Regions from separate parts of the Homo sapiens genome. Here regions 2, 3, 4, 5, 6 and 7 are each linked to region 1. Evidence: promoter capture Hi-C in 16 types of primary human blood cells and fetal thymus (Javierre and others, 2016). All regions are on one chromosome and are shown on one strand. Each heading gives the region's core, a stretch centred on a gene start or on the middle of the fragment in contact. The rest is flanking DNA. Distances are from core to core; before and after follow the strand shown. Region 1 holds the start of MYOM2 (myomesin 2). Region 2 has its middle 220 kb from the start of MIR7160. Region 3 has its middle 200 kb from the start of MIR7160. Region 4 overlaps ARHGEF10 (Rho guanine nucleotide exchange factor 10). Region 5 has its middle 180 kb from the start of MIR7160. Region 6 has its middle 2.9 kb from the start of ARHGEF10. Region 7 overlaps ARHGEF10 (Rho guanine nucleotide exchange factor 10).

Region 1 (3,094 bases), core at 376-2,875:
TTGGGAGGCTGAGACTCCAGTGGGGACCTGCTGACCTTCAGCTCAGGGGCCTCCACCTGCTCTGCTGTAAAACAGGGGGCTGAGTGAGGTGGCAGCTAACAGTCCCCCAGCTTGGACAGCCTGTGTGTAGATAATCCTGGCGCCACGCTGTACTGTTAGCACAGACCGTCCCCAGGGAAATATGACTTGCCCGGGTCACCGGTAGGGCCACGGCCGAACCCAGGCGCCAGCTGACTCTCCTGACAGCGTCCAGCCCACTTTCCACCACAGCCCAGCTCCCCGGCCACTCCCGGAATGCTCCTGACACGTTTAGGAATCATGACACCAGGATGAAACGCGAGCCTCTCCTCCAGTGCAGGGGACCACGTGTCTGATATCCCCATCCTAATTCCTTCCTGCAAACAACGTGTGGAGCCCATTCCTCATGTCACCAGGATGGGTTTTAATTTGCAAAAATGTTTGAAGTACAAAACATTGACTTCCACTTAATGAAGGAAATTGTTTGTACAGTTAAAAATGTCAAAGTCAATAAATACACCAAATTAAAGCTTTCTAGAGGGGAAAGGGACTCCCAGACACGCAGCGTTGGCCTGTGCCACAAGTGGCTAAGCCCTTGGCTCCCAAGACAAGTTTTAGCTTGGGACTTGGTTTATTAAATAACGCCTTAAATTATCTTTGTTCCACGCTTTCTTTGAGTCCTGTTTTACTTCTACTTAGTAAGAAAGGAATGTGAAATGGAGAATTAGAAAAGGCCAGGTGTTCCCAGTGATGGCAAACCCCTTCCTTCCGTTTGCCTCCGGTGCCTTCCACGTGCAACCACCCAGCCCCACTGTCTTTCTCCAGCAGGTTGCATTTCAAGAGCACGCCCTGAGAAGGCACAGCCTCTATCAGCGGAGTGGAGCTGAAGAAGTCTGAAGGGTCACAACACACCCAACAGCACAAAGAAGAAAACAGCCGTAAGAACGCTGTCATTTTTGGGCAAAAACTTGCAAGTCCTGACAAGGATTGTTCTCTTTCCCATACCGTGGATAATATAGGCTAGGTCTAAGCTGAATGACCCTCGACTCTTTTTTCCCTTAAGAAAATATCCAGTTTTATTATTTCACACCTTTATAAGTCAGCCCTCTCCTCGGGGGAGGCTTTCGTTTCTGAGAATCTCATGAAACTTGCAGACATCAGTCCACTGACTGGGGGGCCCCCTGGGGCCACGATGAGACCAGGGCTAAAACCCAAAGCACACGCCGCAGGGTGCTAAACGGCACTTAGCAAAGACCACGGCTGTGGGAAATAAAATGTTAGTTGAGCATAAAACCTCGTCAAAGAAATACAGATCCCAGAACTAATTGCTCTGTTTTCCACAGTAAAGGGTGCCTGCGACGGGGTGCACTGGCTCTCTCTTCTTGACCCTGAAGTAGAGGTACTTAGAAAATGTGAGTGCAGAAGTTACCGGTCCTCCCCTTAAAGCCACAAATTAGAAAAGGCAAGAAGAGAAAGACACTTACCCAGACAGAAAGGAAAATTGCAAGGAGGAGAGAGAATTCCTGACCACCGGCTCACCAAGCCACCCACACTCCAGCCGAGGAAGGCAGAGCTGACTCCTGCAAAGCAAGCGCCTGTGCCTCCCTCCCGTTTAAGGTCTGAGGAGCTACTATATATAGACGCCTGGGCCTGCCTCTCCCCACATCAATACCCACATCGTAAATCACCAGCCTGACCTCAGGAGGAAAAGCTTCTTGTTCAAACTGAGGGCGGGGGAAATCACGATTCAAAACTGGAACGTGTCCTTTCTGAGTCCCAAACTGCACTTTTCCCAGGAAACCGGGTGTGACACTTCAGCCCCCGACCCAGAAAGAGAGGGCAGGGCACTGACTTCCCACGCTCCCTCCCCGCAACTCTCCTCCATGAGTTCTAATCCTTACGTGTGAATTCTCAGACATATCTTCAATCCTTTCGAGCTACAGGTTCCCTGGCTCACAAATTGCAACTCCTGAATGAGTCTTTAATAATGACATGGATTTCAGTGAGCATTTGTGCCATTCGCAGGCCTGGACACCCGAGTTGAGGTCGGCTGTGGAGGGAGGGAGGTGCACAAGCCCCTGGGTTTGTGAGCGTGTGTGTGCATGTTCGTGTGTTTGTTCGTTTTTTTTTTTTTATTTCAAGAACGACTCAGGTCTTCACTCGATTGTATCTTAGGGCTATTTTAGCAAGAACTGCCTACCCAAAAGAGGAGCGGTGCCTAGTCGGCAAGTCGGGGCTTATTTATAGCCATTACCACAGACGTACACTGCGTCTACACCACACGGATAATTGCAGGGTGCCCGTCGTTTCGCACAGCGTGTGTCCAAATATAGATAACACACACCTGGCACGGTCCTGGGCTGCAGCCTGGCCAAGAGGCGGGGCCTCAAGGGGATGCCCCCATCTGAGGACCCGGAGAATCACACTCCAGCTGCACCTCACCACAGGGGCTGAGGACTTCGGCCAGCTGCTCAGCCCACGGGGGCTATGCTCCCCAGCTCTAAAACGCATGGAATAACAACTTTCCTGTAAGTTTGTTGTGACAAGTAGAGAAAATATGATAAGAGAATTGCCTTAAGAAACTCCACGTTCTCACACTGGGGTATCAGAGGCACAGCCAAGGACCAGCGAGCAGGTGGATGGAGGCGAAGATCAGATACGAGAAAGACGCGAGCACAGCCTCTTGCTGGGCCCCAGAGCGTTCTGGATGCTGGATCAGGAGGCGAGTGTTTCTGTCTTCTTCCCCTTCGTATTCTGATGGCCTAGCATTTAATTTAATTAGTGTTTGTTGAGTGATTTCTTAGTCTATTCAGGCTGCTTTAGCAAAACACCATAGACCGTGTAGCTTATAAAACACAGGAGCTTCTTTCCCACAGTTCTGGGGACTGGAAGTCCAAGATCCAGGTACCAGCAGACACTGCCTGGGGAGAGCCTTCTGGTTCTGGGACGGCGCGGTCCCTGAGTCCTCACCAAGTCAAGGGGCCAGGCCGCTCTTGGGGCCTCTGTATGAGGATACTGATCCCACTCGGGAGGTTCCACCTCCATGACCTTGTCACTTCCCTAAGGCCCCACCTCC
Region 2 (2,836 bases), core at 250-2,749, 250 kb before region 1:
ACTTCAAAATGTGTATTTATTAACTATATTTAACTTGAAAAGATGCACTCACTGAAGCATCCACTAGGATGAATGGAAATTATACCAGCCTTTAAATTCAGCCGTCAACCTGGTCCTTCTCACAGCAAAGTCAAAGGTCAGCACATAATGGTTGTGCATTATAATATTCTCAAGAGCAGTCCTCTCACAGGGATGCTGTTTGAATTAGCTAATTGATGATTGCCAAGGGCTTTGGCGAGGCAAGGCTCTGCATAACTGATAATTACTATTATTATCACAGGGACTAAGATGTTCTGCATTGCTCTGTGAACAAAGGGCCAAGAAATGAATTTGCTATAAGATATAATGTAGCTAACAAAAAAGAAGTGTGAAAAGATAGAACATACGACGTCTCAAGTAGCTGAGATTTGTTTAGGAAGTTGTTTCTGCTTTGTGTTCCTGATAAGGACATCAAAACAGGCAAAATAATGGACTTTTTAGATACCCATAAAAGCATCCCAAAAGATTGCTCATTTCCTTTGTGTTAAAAATATGCGACTTTGCACGCAGAGAAGAGTTCTCAAGATTGCCAGACACTGAGCACAAGTCGTCAGAAGTTTAGACAATAAAGGGACATCTGAAAGACACCTGAGACAAGACAGAGAAAAATATCCAGCTTTAAAGGTGTCATACCCAACGTGTGTATTTTCCTGCACCAATTTTTTAAAAAAATGCCAAACTGATTCTTTCCTTAAATAAATTTGGGACATTCTGACCAGGCACGGTGGCTCATACCTGTAATCTCAGCACTCTGGCAGTCTGAGGCAGGCAGATCGAAGCCAGGAGATCAAGACCAGCTTAGGTAACAAGACAAAATCCCATCTGTACAAAAAATACAAAAAATTAGCCGCGTGTGGTGGCACACACCTGTAGTCCCAGCTACTCAGGGGACTGAGGCAAAGGGTCACTTGAGCCCAGGAGGTTGAGGCTGCAGTGAGCCATGACGGTGCCACTGCCCTCCAGCCTGGGTGACAGAGCGAGACCATGTCTCAAAAAATAAAAGTAAAATAGTAAATTTGGGGCATTCTTTCTGTCCTCCTGGCAGACAGGGTTGGTTGGTTTGATTTGGTTTTATTTTTTCCCTGGGTCATCGGATCATGAGAACACACACGAGTCTTCAGCCTCAATGGGTGGCTCCATCCTGCCCACTGGAGAGGTCAGTTTCTCAGCGCAGCTCATTCCAGCTCACAGGCCTCACCGTCAGGCCTGCCAGGATCGCAGCAACCTGCCTGGAAGACGAGCTGATGAGCTACTGGCCGGGTTTCCAGTGATACCAAGTTGAGCCCTTTTGTCTGACACCTCTGTCTGAAGCAGGGAGAGAGTAGGAGGACGGAGACCAAAATGGGGAATCCAAGGATGGCACAATTTAAAACAAACACTGTGAGGCTACCACGCCCCGCCGTGCTGGGTTATGGATCAGAGGGTCTGAGAACTGCAGCTGGCATGGTGAGATTATTTTCCACGTGAGCTCCCGTGGAAGGAACTGAGCACTGTTCCTGGGGTTCCAGTGCCCTGTGCTGTGATGAGTCAGGGGAGCTCTCCCTCCTGCTCCAAGCTCCTGAGCTGCCCTCACTGAGGACCACTTTACCAGTGTTCTCCTGCAGTGTTTTCCTGGATCCTTTCGGCTTTTCCGGGCACTGACAGGGATAGGAATGGGAGAGAGAAGAGAGAAGAAACAAAATCCACAACAGAGCCTTCGTCAAATTCCATAATTACAGAGGCTTTGGGGATTTCCAAAAGATTATTGTTGGGGGAGTAACGGCTGATTCCGAGAGCCCAAGCCGAAGCTAATTCTACAGAGGTGTTCACAGCAATGTCGTTGGTCTGGTTGGTTCGAGAAAAGGCAAATAAAAAAGGCAACAGTTAATGATCTCGGCTACTAACAACATGGTAGCGTCGCTTTCCCACACCCTGAAGCTGAGGGACATTTTCTTCTTGGGGTAGCCAATTAGTAGCATTAATGGGACAGGAATCAGATTAATCATGGCACGAGCCACCCGCTAATGCATTCCACCCATTATTCTCAGCATTCACTCATCAAGCAGTCTCCAAGAGCCTCCAAGGAAATAATAAAACGGGTCGATCTGAATGCCTCTCATCTCCCTTCTTCATCTCATCTACCTCTGACCTGGTAGTTAAGGAGCCACAAAATGGACAGGCCAGGGGCTATAGAGGAATCTGAGGAGAAGGATCAGGATAATGGGCAAACTGGAGATGTGATTAATTACAGAATGCACTTTTACTTTCCCCGGGTGAATTAGCTATAAACCATAAGCCTTCTCCCTGCTGCCATGGCCTTCACCTATTTTATCCTCAAAAAGAGATAAGCAGAGAAAATTGCAGCTTTGCAAGTGACATTTGCCCCTTCCTTGGCACTAAGGATTGGCAGGTTGCAATAACACACTCCAGACAGGGCTCCTCAGGCTGTACCGTGCATGTGAGCGGCCAGGAGAACCGACAGAAATGCAGGTTCCGAGGCAGTGAGTTGGGGACGGGGCCAGTTGCCACATGTCTGTGGTCTTTTAGCTGCAGGACAAACCAGACTGAAAGTCCTGCAGCTTCCAGCCCATCCGTGCACACACCATGTCTGGAAAATATGTATGGAACGGAGAAATGGGCAGTCACTGGAAAGAGAGCCACTGGCGACTTGACTTCTCTGTGAGGAATCCTGTAGCCCAGCCCAAGACAATGAAGAGGTTCCTGATGAGAACGTGTGGCTCTATCTGCCTGGTCACTGCCGAGCTGACAATGAGGATGCCCATCCAGCACCCAGGGTGTGACGACACCACACTCGCGA
Region 3 (2,889 bases), core at 191-2,690, 230 kb before region 1:
TCCATCCGCCTCGGCCTCCCACAGTGCTGGGGTTACACCCATGAGCCAACACGCCCGGCCAGACAGGCCATTTCCATGATGCCCAGGCTGGCCTTGAACCCCTGGGTTCGAGCAAACTGCCAGCCTCAGTCTCCCAATGTCCTAGGATTACAGGCGTGAACCACTGCTCCCAGCCAGTATACGTAATTTAAATGTTTTACAATTAATTATTTAAATTAAATGATTTAAACAAAATTATTCGAATGATGTAAACACCCTAGAAATAAATCCGGGTATTAAGAAGGAAGAATCACGTTCCAAGGGAAAAGGAGCTAATATTAATCCAAAACATTTGGTGCACTATACATAGTTATTTAGTATATTTACTAGATGTAGTGTGTATAAATAGTCACCAGATAGGTAGGTAAAGACAGAAAGGGAGATTGAATTAACATTACTTTTAGAAGTCAACCGGAGCTACTCAGGAAAGGCCCAGCACTAACATAAAGGGATGAATCGGCCAGGCTGGCCAGTAGGGGATAGCGAAGACTGTGGCAAAACCAAGTGTATGCCTAGCCAACATCATGTTCAGGTTACTTCTCAAACCAGCCAGCACCTAAACCACACGCCTCTGTGGGCTGACAATACATATTTGGGCCAGATGAGGCCTGCAGACGGTCAGCCCCTAAAGAGATGTCTGGTGAGGAAGCTATTTTGAGCTGAGACTGGACAGCTGAGAAGTGTTAGGGACTCATTAACACTTCCCAACCTAAACAACAGTTTAATTCAAGCTGGACAGAGCTGAGACATGGGCAGGCCTGAAGCAGAGTGAATGAGAGATGGAGAAAAGGCTGTTTATAACAATTAAGGTAGAACCCACAGAAGCATTTATAAGCTTTGGAAATAAGGGTTTTAAAACTATTGCCCTGGTAGGTACTTTTTACATCATGTAAGTAAACCCTAAAATGGCCAACATATCTAGGTTTAAAGAGCAATATTAAAAAAGCTTATTTTCTCCATTTTCCCTGCAAGAGATAATCCTAAACATCCATTGTATCAAGCTAGTCAGTCTCTACCTTGAACGTGGTTGCAACTGTAGGTGGCACAGATAACGACGTTTGGAAGAATTAAGTGATTTTGTATTAAAAAGCCCTTATTTCTGAATATATATGGGATATTTTGGAAAGAGGTATACACATGGATTTCTTTTTAATTGGAGATTAGATGTTTAATCATACTCTCAAAATGATCCATGTAGACCAAAATGTGAAGTTGTGCTGGTCTATAGCGGTGTTTTCCAGCTCTGGATCTCCCTGCAACAGCAGCCTCATGACCCGCGAGTTAATCAGAAACAGAACGAGCGGATCCACCCGCCCAGCGAATCAGCCTCTGTGGGGCGAGGCCGGGGGCTGAGGACAGGCTCTCCAGGTGAGTGACCCAACGCGGCTAAAATATATGACCTGCGGTCCTGGCTGCACATCCTCAGAGACTTCTCAGTGAAGTAATTTGGTACAGATTTTAGGAAAAGATATTTATGTTGTCTTTACTAACCAGAACCAGTTTAAATACAGTCTTTTAGAAGGAGAGGAAACAGAATCCATCCTATTTTTCCAGAGGTAACTTTTGTGTGTGTGTGACTCACATCTGTTTTCTGTTTCCCATTCGGAAAGTGTCTCCAGGGTAGTGGCCTGCACCCTATGAGCATGTCCACTAACCAAATGAACGAGAGGTATTCAATCACTTAGGTTAGTTAAAGTCTGTGTGATTCCCCAAGGTTTAGCTCACGGGTGAAAGGGCACATGCTTTCAATGAGATCTAAAGTTTTTGGCAAGTTGATCGTAAGCCCGAGAGACCCCATGGTTCAAACGCAAGCACATGTGTAGGGCACACACATACACATAGCTGTGGAAGCTTCGTGGATGCACTTTCTCCATCTGCATTTTCCGGAATTTCCCTGCATCACATAGTGAAGGGGAAACCAGATGTGCAGAAAAGGTTCTCCTCGGGAGGCGAAGGCAAACAGAGCTGTCCTGTTTGCTCCCCACTGAAGCCACTTACACATAACTCTGTAGTCCATAGTCAACAAGATGACTCCAAGGGGAAGGAGGGAGGAGGAAAGGAAAAAGTCAAGGCAGAGGAGATTAGCTTGGCAACACACAGCCGAGCATCCATCCATATTCTGTATCATATTATCCCGCCTGCTACACAAGTACCTCACAGCAGATAGCACTGACTGCCTGACTACACACGCCAGGGGCATGTTGCTGGATAGCTGTGCTTTTTCTCCATGTCTGCTTACATTTAATCTTCAAATCACTTATACACAGATTTATATACACAAATGCACATATACACATATACATAAACACACCTGTGCAGGTATACACACAAGGACGTATACATGATAAAGTCTAGTTGAACTACATTAATCATGGGTACATGCATGTACATACATGCACACATAAGTACATGCTAGAATCCACTTATGCTGATTACATTAATCATGGGTGTATTAGTCCGTTTCCACACTGCTATAAAAAATGCCCGAGACTCGGTAATTTATAAAGGAAGATGGTTTATTTGACTCATAGTTCCACATGGCTGGGGAGGCCTCAGGAAACTTACAATCATGGCAGAAGGTGAAAGGGAAGCAAGGCACCTTACTCACAGGGTGGCAGGAGAGAGAAATGCAAGCAGGGGAAATGCTAGACGCTCATGAAATCACCAGATCTCATGAGACTCACTCATCATCACAAGAACAGCATGGCGGAAACCACCTCCACGATCCAATCACCTCCCTCCCTCGGCATGTGGGGATTGCAATTCAAGATGAAATTTGAGTGGGCCACAGAGCTAAACCATATCAATGGGTATATGTGAGTACATAGACACACACACACACACACACAC
Region 4 (3,073 bases), core at 53-2,552, 170 kb after region 1:
CGACACAGCCCCGTGTGTGTCTGCACTCTCCCACCAGACTGTCTTAGAACCTGTACCCCCTACACGGCCCCGGGTGTGTCTGCACTCTCCCACCAGACTGTCTTAGAACCTCTACCCCCTACACGCCGTGGTGTGTGTCTCCACTGTTCCTCCAGCCTGTCTTAGAACCTCTACCCCCTACACGCCCTGGTGTGTGTCTCCACTGTTCCTCCAGCCTGTCTTAGAACCTCCACTGCTTACACACCCCGGTGTGTGTCTGCACTCTCCCTCCAGACTGTCTTAGAACCTCTACCCCCTACACACCCTGGTGTGTGTCTGCACTGTTCCTCCAGCCTGTCTTAGAACCTCCACCCGCTACACACCCCGGTATGTATCTGGACTGTCCCTCCAGAGGTTATAAGGAAACTCCATCCCCTATTTCCTCGCATCCATCTCTGGACTTCCAACTTTTCTGGTCCATACAAAACAAGTCTACACAGACATGGTTTTCACACATGTTACCTTTTTCACCTCAATTAGATTTTCAGCCCTTTGAGAGCTGGAGCTGCATTTTCTGTATTCCGCACAGCAGTTGGCAAGAGTCTAATCAATCAATCCAGCTCTCTCAATGCCTTGTTAAGGCTCCTGGGACCCAGCCACAGGATCAGGCACGTTTGGACGCCTTTACTTAGGTCTGTTAGAACTCAGGCTATTCAGATGTGTGAAAAACGGGTGGTTTTCAATGTTTTAGAAACGCAATTGCTGTTGTGACCCCCAGCAAACACGGAACTTCCAAGGACTTTGAAGGGTCTTGCTAACCATCAATTCAGTGAATTACTCACTTCCTCTTGAATGCCTGGGCTGGCAGATTTGTGGTTCTAAAATTGAACGTTAAATCCAGTCACCCTGGCATGTGTTTTCTGACCAAGCCAGTGACCAGGCAGCGCCATCGACTTATTGTCCTCGATGACAATCTTGTCGTTGGCCCTTAGCCCCGCGTATTTAAAAAGTGGCCTATGGAGGCATTGGCTGTACAGTGAGCGTACCTAATGCCACTCAGTCCTACGTGCTGAACTGACCGAAAGGAATATTTACGTATACCTGACACAATAAAAAAAAAAGAAAAAAGTGGCCCTGTGTGGCCTCTGTAACATCTAGTAAGGAATTCTCCCATATTCTCCCTGTGTTCTGAGAGCCCCGAACTCTAAACGAGTGAAGAAATGTGGGTGCACTACCCCGCGGCACCTCTCAAGGCAACTAGGAAATGCGAGTGCACTACCCCGCGGGCACCGCTCAATGAAACGAGGAAATGCGGGTGCACTACCCCGCGGCACCTCTCAAGGCAACTAGGAAATGCGGGTGCACTACCCCGCGGGCACCTCTCAAGGCAACTAGGAAATGCGGGTGCACTACCCCGCGGCACCTCTCAAGGCAACTAGGAAATGCGGGTGCACTACCCCGCGGGCGCCTCTCAAACGAGGAAATGCGGGTGCACTACCCCGCGGGCGCCTCTCAACGCAACGAGGAAATGCGGGTGCACTACCCCGCGGGCTCCTCTCAATGCAACTTGATGCCAGCACACTGTGACTTTCTCCTCTTGCTTTTGCTTTTTGCTCACCATTGCTTCTGAGTTCTTATAAACATACACACATATAATTTCCTCGTTTTTCTGCTGCCGTGCTGTGGGTGGTTTACTGGATACTTCTGCACGGTGCCCTCCTGCAGCCACCAGGCTTTCCCGTCTCCCGGTCCGCACAACAGCTCTGCACAGAGCATCCCACAGGGCCCTCCTGCGGCGGCGTGAGTTTCTTTCGGAAACTGGCTCCCTGCCCCACCACCGCTATGGATGGCCGGTCCATTAACTCCTGCTTGTGCTGTCCTTACAAAGGGGACACACTGGGCCTCGCCACACGGCAGGGGGCCGACGGCTGGACTCCCGCAGTGTGTTGGCTTCTGAGTCACCAGACCACGCCTTCCGCGAGGAATGCCCGAAGCGACCGGATAAATTACCCCAAAATGCATTTCAAACTTGTTTTTACATCAACTAACCTTTGGTCCTCACTTTCTTTGTGGCACATTTACCTGCAAGCACCTAGGAGTTTTCCTGATCAACAGGATGAAATCACCCTATCTCCATGACAGCAGGCACACCTCCATCTACTATTCGGTATGTAACTGCCCAAAACATATTTGCGGAATGAATAAATTAACGAACGCCGTGAGCTCCTCCCCATTACGTTGGCGGTAGATTTTAAGAACACGTCCTTAATTCAGCTAAGTGAGTTTCCTTCTATCAGCAGTTTTTAATGTTGGATGGTCACTGAATCTCAGCAAGTGCTTTTTAAACACATGCTGAGATAAGCATATGGGTTTATGTCCATCAATTTGGGGAAATCGTGTTACAAGAGCTTCTCAAAGGATCCTTGAACTGCTGCCATGAATGTAAAAGGTTAAAACAGGCTCTTGCTTACTTGTTAGGGTCATGCTGGATTCAACTTCCTGACATTTCTGGAAGGAAATGTAGCATCAACCTTCGCAGGTGAGGGAGTTTACAAGTTTCTGCTAACATTATAAACTAATTCTCACCTCATCCTTGCTTCTGCTATTCACTGGAACAGTGCATGCGACTGAGGGGTTTGTCCGCTCCCTGAAGGCTCAATAAACCCCAGCATAAAAACATCTGAGCCTGGTGGGCTGTTCTGCACAGTAGTTAAGCAAACCATTCATTATGTTGGATCATTATAGGTTTATTCATGGTTTTTATTTTGGGTATAGTTGATTCTTCAAGGCAATTTTTAATTTCATCTAACTTTTTGATAAAAAGTTATTTATAGCATCCTCTTATGATTTTTACAAATTTCTACTGCAGTTACATCCTCTTGATCAACTTTTTCCTTCCTTCCTTTCCTTCCTTCCTTCTTCCATCCCTCTCCCCTCTTTCTCTGTGTCATCTTAATATAACCAGAGGCTTGTCTATTTTTGTACTATTTTTAAAGAACCAACCTTTGGTTTTGTTAATACTTTATGTTGCTTCCTGGATTTTTATTTCATCATTTTTGCCTTGCCCATTATTTTTTTCCTGCCACTTCCTTTG
Region 5 (2,871 bases), core at 215-2,714, 210 kb before region 1:
GCAGCAAACAGGCTCCATCTGAGTCAGGAAACCCTCAGCAGACACAGAGCCTACAGCACCCGGATCTCCAGCTTCCAGCCTCAGAACTGTGGGAAAGGCGCGTCTACTGTTTCACAGGCCCCAGTGGTGGAATTTTTGTTACAAAATTCTGGATGGACTAAGACTTATGGCTTCAGGGTTAACTCATTCTCACATCAAGAAAGTGGTACAGTTATGACAATCTTCATCAATCATAGCCTAAACTACCCCTGAAGAAATTTAGGGAGGTTTCAGATTGTGTTTTCATCTCAATTAAAATGAGTTTTATCTATCTTCAGGTTTCAGAAATTAAATTTGCATTGTGGACAAATTCAAGAAAGGCATATTTTAAATGTCTTAAAGTCAAAGTAGATTTTTTTGATCTACCTTTACCATACATCCCACAAATACAGTCATGCACCCCATAACAATGCTTGAGTCAACAACAAACCACATATTCTACAGTAGCCCCATATACTACGGTGACCCATACACACACAAACTCAAGCATGGTACATATATGCCGATGCATGCCAAAGGATGTAGATTAAAATCTACATGGAGACAGAAAAGCAGATGAGTTTGTCTTGAGCACAGTCATACTTAATCCAAACGTAACAATATTCCAATTTTACTTAAGAAATTTCACAGATTCTAAGATGCCTAACAACACATTGCTCTGTCATTAAGTGAGGCATGACTGCACGTACTAGCAGGCGAGGAAGACAGTAAATGTTCAATTAATGTTTGATGATTGACCAAATCAGGTGGGATGGTGGGGGGTGGGGGGTGGAGGATGGGGAACGATTTGTCAGACATTTTGGTGAATCCAAGGTTTCACTCAAGTCAAAATAAAAATATTCATAGAGCCCAATGCAAACAAGAAAACACACAGACAACAAAAAACACAGAACGACAATGACAAAATGGCCAAGCAGGAGAGCCGCACGTGTTCCTGACCTGGCTGCAGCTGTCCCTGAGGCCCAGGCCGTCCCGGACCTCACACCGAACCCGAGGTTATGGCCCCCAACCTTCCTCAGCCTCTCCTACCCTGACCACACAGTCGCTCGAGAGCCTTTCTTGATAGGAAAAAGAAATGAAAAGCTTAGCTCATTTTAACAGAATCAAAATGACCCAGACCTTCACATGTTTGTATCACAAGAGCTAAATCACATATTATTTGATGATCTTCCTTTATGTCCAGCTTGGGTTAAGTGAAGCATTAATTAGAGATGAAAATTGTTATTTTTTTAAACATAAATTTACACTAAGTAGGTGAGTCATTTGGTGTCTGAAAAAATAAAACCTAAATAACTCCAACTTCAGACACACCAGATAATACTCTTAAACTTCCTTAACTGACTTTTAAAGTCAGTTTTTTCCCATTGGTGCTTCCTACAGCACCAGAGAAATCAGCATCTCTGTAGGATCAATGTGTTTGTGTCTGCAGGAGCTCAGATAAAGCCCTGGTTTTAGCTGAATGATTAGTTGTGATACCTTTTAAATGCTCTTTTGGGTATAGAAATGCTGACTTAGAATTTATGATAACACAGAAATCAGCTTATAGAAATATATGAGAACTATCATATCCAGGAATTAAATGAATCCACTCATAAATAAAAACATATTGATATCCACCTGTTAAAGGAGAGGAACTTGATATCTTTCTCACCGACAGATAGCAAGACAGGCACATGGAATTTTTATGCTTGCATACACTATGCTTAGGGAAAACAGGAAACAAACTTCTCTTAAAACGGTTTTATTATTTGTAATTAAGAAGCTTGCAAAATTCTCTCTCCCATTTATTTAAATATCTGAATTATTCTTGAAGATCGTATGTTACATATTTTCATTTCTTCTTCTGCTTGTTTTTGCATATGTGGCATAAATTGTGAGTAAAACTCTTGAATGGTGTTTCATATCAAACACGAATCCTCGTGTCAAGCTCTGAGCAAAGTCGTGAGAGGAGAAAGTATCTCCCAGCAGGATTATTCATTCCTTCTGTTGACGTCATCTACCCATCCACGCCAACTCTGGCCGCCCAAGGCCACCAAGCTAATAGCACTCAATGGTGTTCCGCATGTATCCTCCCTATGGACTTACCAACTCCTAACCACCCAACCAGAGTGGGCCTGTCTCCTGCTTCCCACCCTGCTCTCTGCTCATTGAAAGCTGGCTCTTCTATGCTACTGGCTGGTTTTTACTAAGGCATGCATATGTTTCTCCTCCCATAATACAGATGTGTATATTCACATGGGCCTTTGGAATATGTCCATCTCATGTGCAGCCTAGAAGCTCCTCCACATGGCTCTGTCCACCCAAAATGTATTAGGAGTGACTGATAATTTCAATCAGTTCTCACTTCATCTAGTAACAGCCTTTTCTGAAATTCAATTTCCTCTCAAAAAGAGGCAATGACGCTTCTAAGATCAAGCAACCTTTCGCCTAGGCAAATGACAAACCTATGCAAGTGACAAATTTCTTCCACCATTGAAAATCGATCCATTGGAAATATTCATCATTCCAATCAATAGGGAGCTTGCGTAGGGAAACATGTGTGACTGGGCCGAGGCGGGCAGATCATGAGGTCAAGAGATCAAGACCATCCTGGCCAATATGGTGAAACCTCATCTGTAACAAAAATACAAAAATTAGCTGGGCGTGATGGTGCTCGCCTGTAGTCCCAGCTACTCAGGAGGCTGAGGCACAAGAATTGTTGAACCCAGGAGGTGGAGGTTGTGGTGAGCCGAGATCATGCCACCGCACTCCAGCCTGGGCAACAGAGCAAGACTTCATCTCAAAAAAAAAAACAAATTGTGCTAGTGTAACCATCCTTAACCAAAAGCAAAC
Region 6 (2,700 bases), core at 96-2,595, 220 kb after region 1:
GAGGAAATAGTCCTGTGTATGGAATAAACAACTCATTTTCTCAATGGATGAAATTGAGCCCCTAAACTCAGGGCCGCCAGGGACACCACTGAGTAGGGCCACAGAGCAATGCCTTCCAGGCAGGTTGGGCAGAAAATCCCCTGATTTGGAGCTCCAATAGATCCTGTCTGTCTGCTTTATTCAGGCGTTCCTCACAGATACATCCCTATTTTCGTAAGCCCGGATATGGAAGAGTTGGGATTTTCCATTGTGATTCCCTCTTTGACCCATGGGATATTTAGAAAAGTTAGGTTCACCTTTCAAATATATGGGGACTTTCTGGTTTTCTTTTTATTGTAACTAAAGTTTAATTCCACCGGGCCTTAAAACATCAGCTGTTTTATTTTTGTCGTTTAAGATTTTCAAACACTTGCTTCATGGCCCAACATTGTCTATTTTGGTAAATGTTCTATGAGCACTTGCTGAGAACATGCTTTCACTGACATAAAGTTCTACAGATGTCAATTAGGTCATATTTGTTACTGATTTTTTTATCTACTTGTACTTTTTATCTACTTGTACTTTTTATCTACTTGTACTGATAAGGGTGTATGAAAATCTTTGACTCTCCGTAGTCTATTCAGCATTGTCCTGCAGCATCTAACAAGTGTTGTAGGTCATAAAAACAAAAAGTGTAAGGATTGAGGGAGGAAAAACTGATTATTTACAGTCAATATGATTATATATGTTAAAAAACAAAATTATCTACAAATAAACTATTAGGATTAAAATAGAATTTAGGAATTTCAGATGGATCATAGACTTAAGTGTAAAAATTATAAAGTTGCTAGGATAAAATATAAGAAAAGATCTTACGGATCTTCAGGTAAGACAGAAAATGGACCGACCATTTAAAAATGATTAAATGGCTTATCAAAATTTAATATTTCTACTCATCTCATGACATCATTAAGAAAATGAAAAGGCAAGCCACAGACTGGGAGAACACAGGGGCAATGCATATATCCCACAAATGGCTTGTCTTAATCCACGTTGTGCTGCTGTAACAGAATACCTGGGAATGGGTGATTTACAATGAAAAGAAATTTATTTCTCACAGTTCTGGAGGCTGGGAAGTTCAAGATCAAGGAGCCACATCTGGCAAGAACCTTCGGGCTGCATCATCCCATGACGGAAGGTGGGAGGCGGAGGTGGGGAGGGAGGATGCAAAATGGGCCAAACTTATCTTTTTTTTTTTTTTTTTTGAGACGGAGTCTTGCTCTGTCATCAGGCTGGAGTGCAGTGGTGCGATCTCTGCTCACTGCAACCTCCGACTCCCTGGTTCAAGCTATTCTGCCTCAGCCTCCCGAGTAGCTGGGATTACAGGTATGTGCCACCACACCCAGCTAATTTTTGTATTTTTAGTAGAGACGAGGTTTCACCCAAACTCATTCTTTTATAAGGAGCCCACCGCCTCAGTCATGGCATTTATCCATCCATGAGGGTCATACCCCCATGACCCAGACACCACCTAGTAGGCACCTTCCAACACTGCTGCATTGGGGGTCAAGTTTCCAACACATAAACTTTGGGGAAAACGCGTTCAAACCATAGTCCTGGTAAATAGAGAACTCCTGCAAATGAACAATAACAAGACAAGTCTATTTCAAAAGGGACAAAACAATATAACAATAACAAGCCTGTAAATAACAATAACAAGTCTATTTAAAAATAAACAAAAGACGTAAATACTTCACCAAAGATGTACTGATAGCCAACAAGAACAGGAAATAGTGCTCAGTGTTACCCAAAGTAAACTCACAATGAGATGCCACCACCGTCATCCAAGCACGGCTGAAACTGCAGACCGACATGGCAAGGGTAAAAATGTGGAGCCCCTGGAACCACTATACAAGGCGATGAGAGTGCAAATGGCGCAACCACTCTGATTAATTGTTTGCCCATTTCTCAGCAATCCCACTTTTAGGTTTGCCCAAGGCAAGTGAAAACATAAGTCCCTTAAAAGACTTTTACAGCCAGACATGGTGACTCCCACCTGTAACCCCAGCACTTTAGGAGGCCAAGGTGGAGGATTGCTTGAGCCCAGGAGTCTAGCATGATAGTCTCCACCTCCAGTCCCAGCTACTTAGGAAGCTGAAGTGGGAGGATCGCTTGAGGCTGGGAGGTCAAGGCTGTAATGAGTCATGTTCACCACCACTGCACTCTAGCCTGGGTGGACAGAGCAAGACCCTGTCTCAAAAAAAAAAAATGATTTTTACAAGAATTCTTTCTTCAAAACAGTTCAAATACTTCGCAACTGGAAACAACCCAAATTCCATCAACAGGTGAACTCATAAAGTATTGTATCTTCATAGAATAATAGAATACTAATAATACAGTAATAAAAAGGAAGAAACTGATATGTTCAATAACAATGAATCTTGAAAACATGAAAAACATAGACAAAAGGGCACATATAGTATGATTCAATTTTTATGAAATTCAAGAATGTGCCAAACCAACCTATAATAATAGGAATCAGAACAGTGGTTATTTTTGGGGGTATTGTCTCAGAAAAGACAAAGGAATTCTGGGGAGTGATGAAAACGGTGACTACATCTTGATTTGATTTGCAGACACATGGGTGTGTTCACTTTGTAAATAGAATCAAGCCGAACACAAGAGTAAGCTACTTCATGGGATATATACAGTGGCCTCAAT
Region 7 (3,001 bases), core at 60-2,559, 190 kb after region 1:
TACAAGTATGAGAATGACAAATACTAAAATTGAATCAAGAAAAAGGATTCAGAAATGTGTTATTTTTAAAACATACGTCTGATAGGAGTGTGTGTTGCTGTCCTTCTGGATGGTGAACTCTGCTCTGCCCAGATACCAAAGCCTCACCCACTTCCTAGAGGGTCAAAGACTTCTCTAAATTCAAAGTTTTGAATTTAAGCCTAATCAAATGAAACAATCGAAGCAGGGGGAGAGCTGGAATGGACAGAACCGCTAATTTCCAGAGTTTGAGCCTTGTTAACTATGTACTTTCAAACCAGTCCTCACTGTCTCCCAAGCGACCGTAAACAAAACCTATTTCAGAAGGGGTTTTTTTTTTTGCCATATCATTAAGTAGTCAGTTTATGGAAATGAACTGGTGAATACCTTTTAAAGTAAAAAGTTAAACAAACAAAAAAACTGTTTTCTGGAATATTTTCCAAATGCAACTGTCATTTCCACAGAATTCACGTTTGGGGAGAAAAAATCATGTTTGCCAAATAAACGTGCTGCGGAAACAATGCCGACTAAATGCCGTGACGAAAATGATCAGTGAAAATGTTTATGTATTGCTGGGCGCAGGGGCTCACACGTGTAATCCCAGCACTTTCAAAGGCCAAGGAGGACTAATTGCTTGAGCCCAGGAATTTGAGACCAGCCTGGACAACATAGTGAAACCCCGTCTCTTAAAAAAAAAAAAAGGTACAAAAATTAGCCTGGGGTGAAGGCGTGGACCTGTGGTCCCACCTACTCCGAAGGCTGAGGTGGGAGGATCACCTGAACCCAGTAAGCGGAAGTTGCAGTGAGCTGAGATTGCGCCACCGCACTGCAGCCTGGGGGACAGAGCAACACCTTGTCCCCCACCCCAAAAAAAGTTTCTGTTCTGACCACCCCAAAAAAAGTCACTGCCAGGCACATGTTCAGATTCATCCAGACGGTGACACAATCACACTAGATTTTTATATTGTCAACTCTCTTTTTTGGAAATTATAGTTTACTACCGCTGAACTCAAACAATTAGATAAAATACACCTAGACATGAGTCTATAAATATTGTTTTTTAAAAAAGCTTGACAATGTCTGGTACAAAATAGGCTCTCAAATATCTGCAAGGGGAGAAACATGAGCTGTTGGGACCGGAACCCACACTGTACCCCATACAGGAAGAAGGAATTCTCTTTAAAGTCTTCAGGAAGGAAGGCCGTGAACAGGAGCCCGTGTGTGCAGGAAACAGCCCTGAGGAGACACCGAGGCCCCTCCACTCCCTCCCCATACGCCACCTCCTGGGCTGTGACACCAGCCCCGGGAGACCGGTGGGATTACCTGGGACAGTGCATGTCCCGTGTGCCAGGTACAGGTATGACCCTGAGAAGAACCGCATGCGTTCTCGGAGCCGGCACCTCTGCTCACCGCCCAGCAAGGTGCAGTGGGAAACCTGGTTGGCGGCAATGTGTGACACGCACATCATGTGAGCGAATGAATGAGAGAATGACGAGCAGATGAGCAAGCTTCAAACTGTTTTTTGCCAAAATAACTCACTTTTTCCCCTAGTAAAATTTAAGTAGAATTCTACTATACAAGGGAAATCAAAGCAATCAAGAAATTCCTCCAAAAGTTTAAATCTTGTTAGTTTAGACTTGGAGGGGCTTGGAAGGGGCTTGGGGCTTGGAATTCAAGAGCTCTCTGCTGTCATTGAAAGACTGGCAGACACTGGCGGAGCTGCCCTCCATCCTCTGCAAACACTGCAGGGAAAGACTTTCAAGTTATATAGACTCTGCAGAATGATGTGTGTTACAAATTCCTCTCAGAATTCAGTTCCAGTAAGAAAAAAATAGCCTTTCTACAAGAACTCAAAGAAGTTGTGCTCAATGTAACCACCTGAGGCTGCACCCCTGCCTGCATGGGTGCCCACAGCTGTGCCCACGGCGGGCGCCCAGGACAGAGGGCGAGGCCGCCTGGAGCTGGGCTGCTCCTCTGACCCCCACCTCCAAGGGGGCCTCCATCGATGGTGAGGCTGCGCCGCCCTCTGAGGTGAGCATGGGGCCGGGCGTTCAAGGTGGTGTGTGCTGAGCATGTCCATCCCAGACACTGCCCTGGGCCCTGGGGGATCCTGGGCATCACAGACCCCACCCGAGCTCCCCAGGTCCCTTAGTGAAGTGCAATGCAGAATGCCTTTAAAAATCCCAGCATTTGGGGTCCTAAGTTTAGTTCTGACACCAGCCCTGACAGGTTCAATTGTGTCCCCTAAATCCCTGTGCTGAAATCCTCACCCCCAGTCTGCTGGTGAGCTCGTCTGCAAACAGGTGACTGCAGGTGCAATTGGTTTACAGGAGGCTGTGCTAGAGCAGGCTCGGCTAACCCAGTGTGGCAGTGTCCTCATGACAGCAGAGGCCAGCACAGGGACGAGGAGCCACCTGGCAGTGCAGCTGCAGGAACTCCCGGGAGTGCCCACAGCCGGCGGGCGCTGGAAGAGGCAAGGAAGGCTGTGACCTACATTCCCGGGGAGCACACACAGCCTGCCAGCACCCTGACCTGGGACTTCCGGCCTGCAACCCAGGAGGCTCCCCCGCAAGCTCGGCCAAGCCCTTTCCAACACAAAAGGTCCTGTGCCATCCTCAGGGCCCTGGCGGGAGCCAGGCAAGCTGGGCTGGGTCGGTTCCCACAACACTCCTGCTGCAGCCACAGAAGGAATTCCCGCTTCTCAAAACCCCAGCTTCAGAACCCAGCCATTCAGCTGAAGGAGAACACTGATGAGAAAAACTACAATTTGCAAACTAGAAAAGATGCTCAAGGGCTGCTGAAAGCATCTCAGGAGATACAACGTGTTGTAGTTTGAGACGACATGGATCTTTCAAAAAGCTGTTGGGGAATCTGCAGTGTAGCCGTCATTCGCTGGACACACCATGGCCCAGTGTTCTCCGCCCGTTGGTCCCTGTGGAGCCCAGGAGGTGGGCGGGAAGGGCCCGGCGCTCTGGGTAGGCAG

Evidence for each region. Contacts are between HindIII fragments. The CHiCAGO score rates a contact against its expected background, and 5 or more counts as called.
Region 2: a fragment that was not itself captured here is called in contact with the fragment with the promoter of MYOM2 in region 1 in 1 of 17 cell types (total CD4 T cells); the score reaches 5.5 in total CD4 T cells.
Region 3: a fragment that was not itself captured here is called in contact with the fragment with the promoter of MYOM2 in region 1 in 7 of 17 cell types (activated CD4 T cells, naive CD4 T cells, fetal thymus and 4 more); the score reaches 10.0 in activated CD4 T cells.
Region 4: a contact is called between a fragment that was not itself captured here and the fragment with the promoter of MYOM2 in region 1, in 6 of 17 cell types (neutrophils, activated CD4 T cells, monocytes and 3 more). The highest score is 14.1, in neutrophils.
Region 5: a fragment that was not itself captured here is called in contact with the fragment with the promoter of MYOM2 in region 1 in 7 of 17 cell types (activated CD4 T cells, total CD4 T cells, fetal thymus and 4 more); the score reaches 10.3 in activated CD4 T cells.
Region 6: a fragment that was not itself captured here is called in contact with the fragment with the promoter of MYOM2 in region 1 in 1 of 17 cell types (neutrophils); the score reaches 6.4 in neutrophils.
Region 7: a fragment that was not itself captured here is called in contact with the fragment with the promoter of MYOM2 in region 1 in 1 of 17 cell types (monocytes); the score reaches 5.1 in monocytes.

The regions. Positions count from the first base shown.
Region 1 is chr8:2,043,577-2,046,670 of GRCh38, reverse strand. It overlaps MYOM2 (myomesin 2), which reads right to left and starts at 1,625. Exons shown (of 37, transcript NM_003970.4): 1 at 1,503-1,625. The HindIII fragment of the contact is 1,181 bases long and covers 551-1,731 here.
Region 2 is chr8:2,297,291-2,300,126 of GRCh38, reverse strand. No RefSeq gene overlaps it. Among named protein-coding and RNA genes, the nearest start is that of MIR7160, 220 kb to the right of the region's middle. RefSeq lists an enhancer at 842-1,341. The HindIII fragment of the contact is 4,151 bases long and covers 1-2,836 here.
Region 3 is chr8:2,274,109-2,276,997 of GRCh38, reverse strand. No RefSeq gene overlaps it. Among named protein-coding and RNA genes, the nearest start is that of MIR7160, 200 kb to the right of the region's middle. The HindIII fragment of the contact is 905 bases long and covers 988-1,892 here.
Region 4 is chr8:1,871,892-1,874,964 of GRCh38, reverse strand. The region is part of intron 7 of ARHGEF10 (Rho guanine nucleotide exchange factor 10); the gene reads right to left. Among named protein-coding and RNA genes, the nearest start is that of ARHGEF10, 50 kb to the right of the region's middle. RefSeq lists an enhancer at 875-1,586. The HindIII fragment of the contact is 6,557 bases long and covers 1-3,073 here.
Region 5 is chr8:2,256,158-2,259,028 of GRCh38, reverse strand. No RefSeq gene overlaps it. Among named protein-coding and RNA genes, the nearest start is that of MIR7160, 180 kb to the right of the region's middle. RefSeq lists a silencer at 1-102. The HindIII fragment of the contact is 679 bases long and covers 1,125-1,803 here.
Region 6 is chr8:1,819,684-1,822,383 of GRCh38, reverse strand. No RefSeq gene overlaps it. Among named protein-coding and RNA genes, the nearest start is that of ARHGEF10, 2.9 kb to the left of the region's middle. The HindIII fragment of the contact is 4,377 bases long and covers 1-2,700 here.
Region 7 is chr8:1,853,277-1,856,277 of GRCh38, reverse strand. The region is part of intron 2 of ARHGEF10 (Rho guanine nucleotide exchange factor 10); the gene reads right to left. Among named protein-coding and RNA genes, the nearest start is that of ARHGEF10, 31 kb to the right of the region's middle. The HindIII fragment of the contact is 439 bases long and covers 1,090-1,528 here.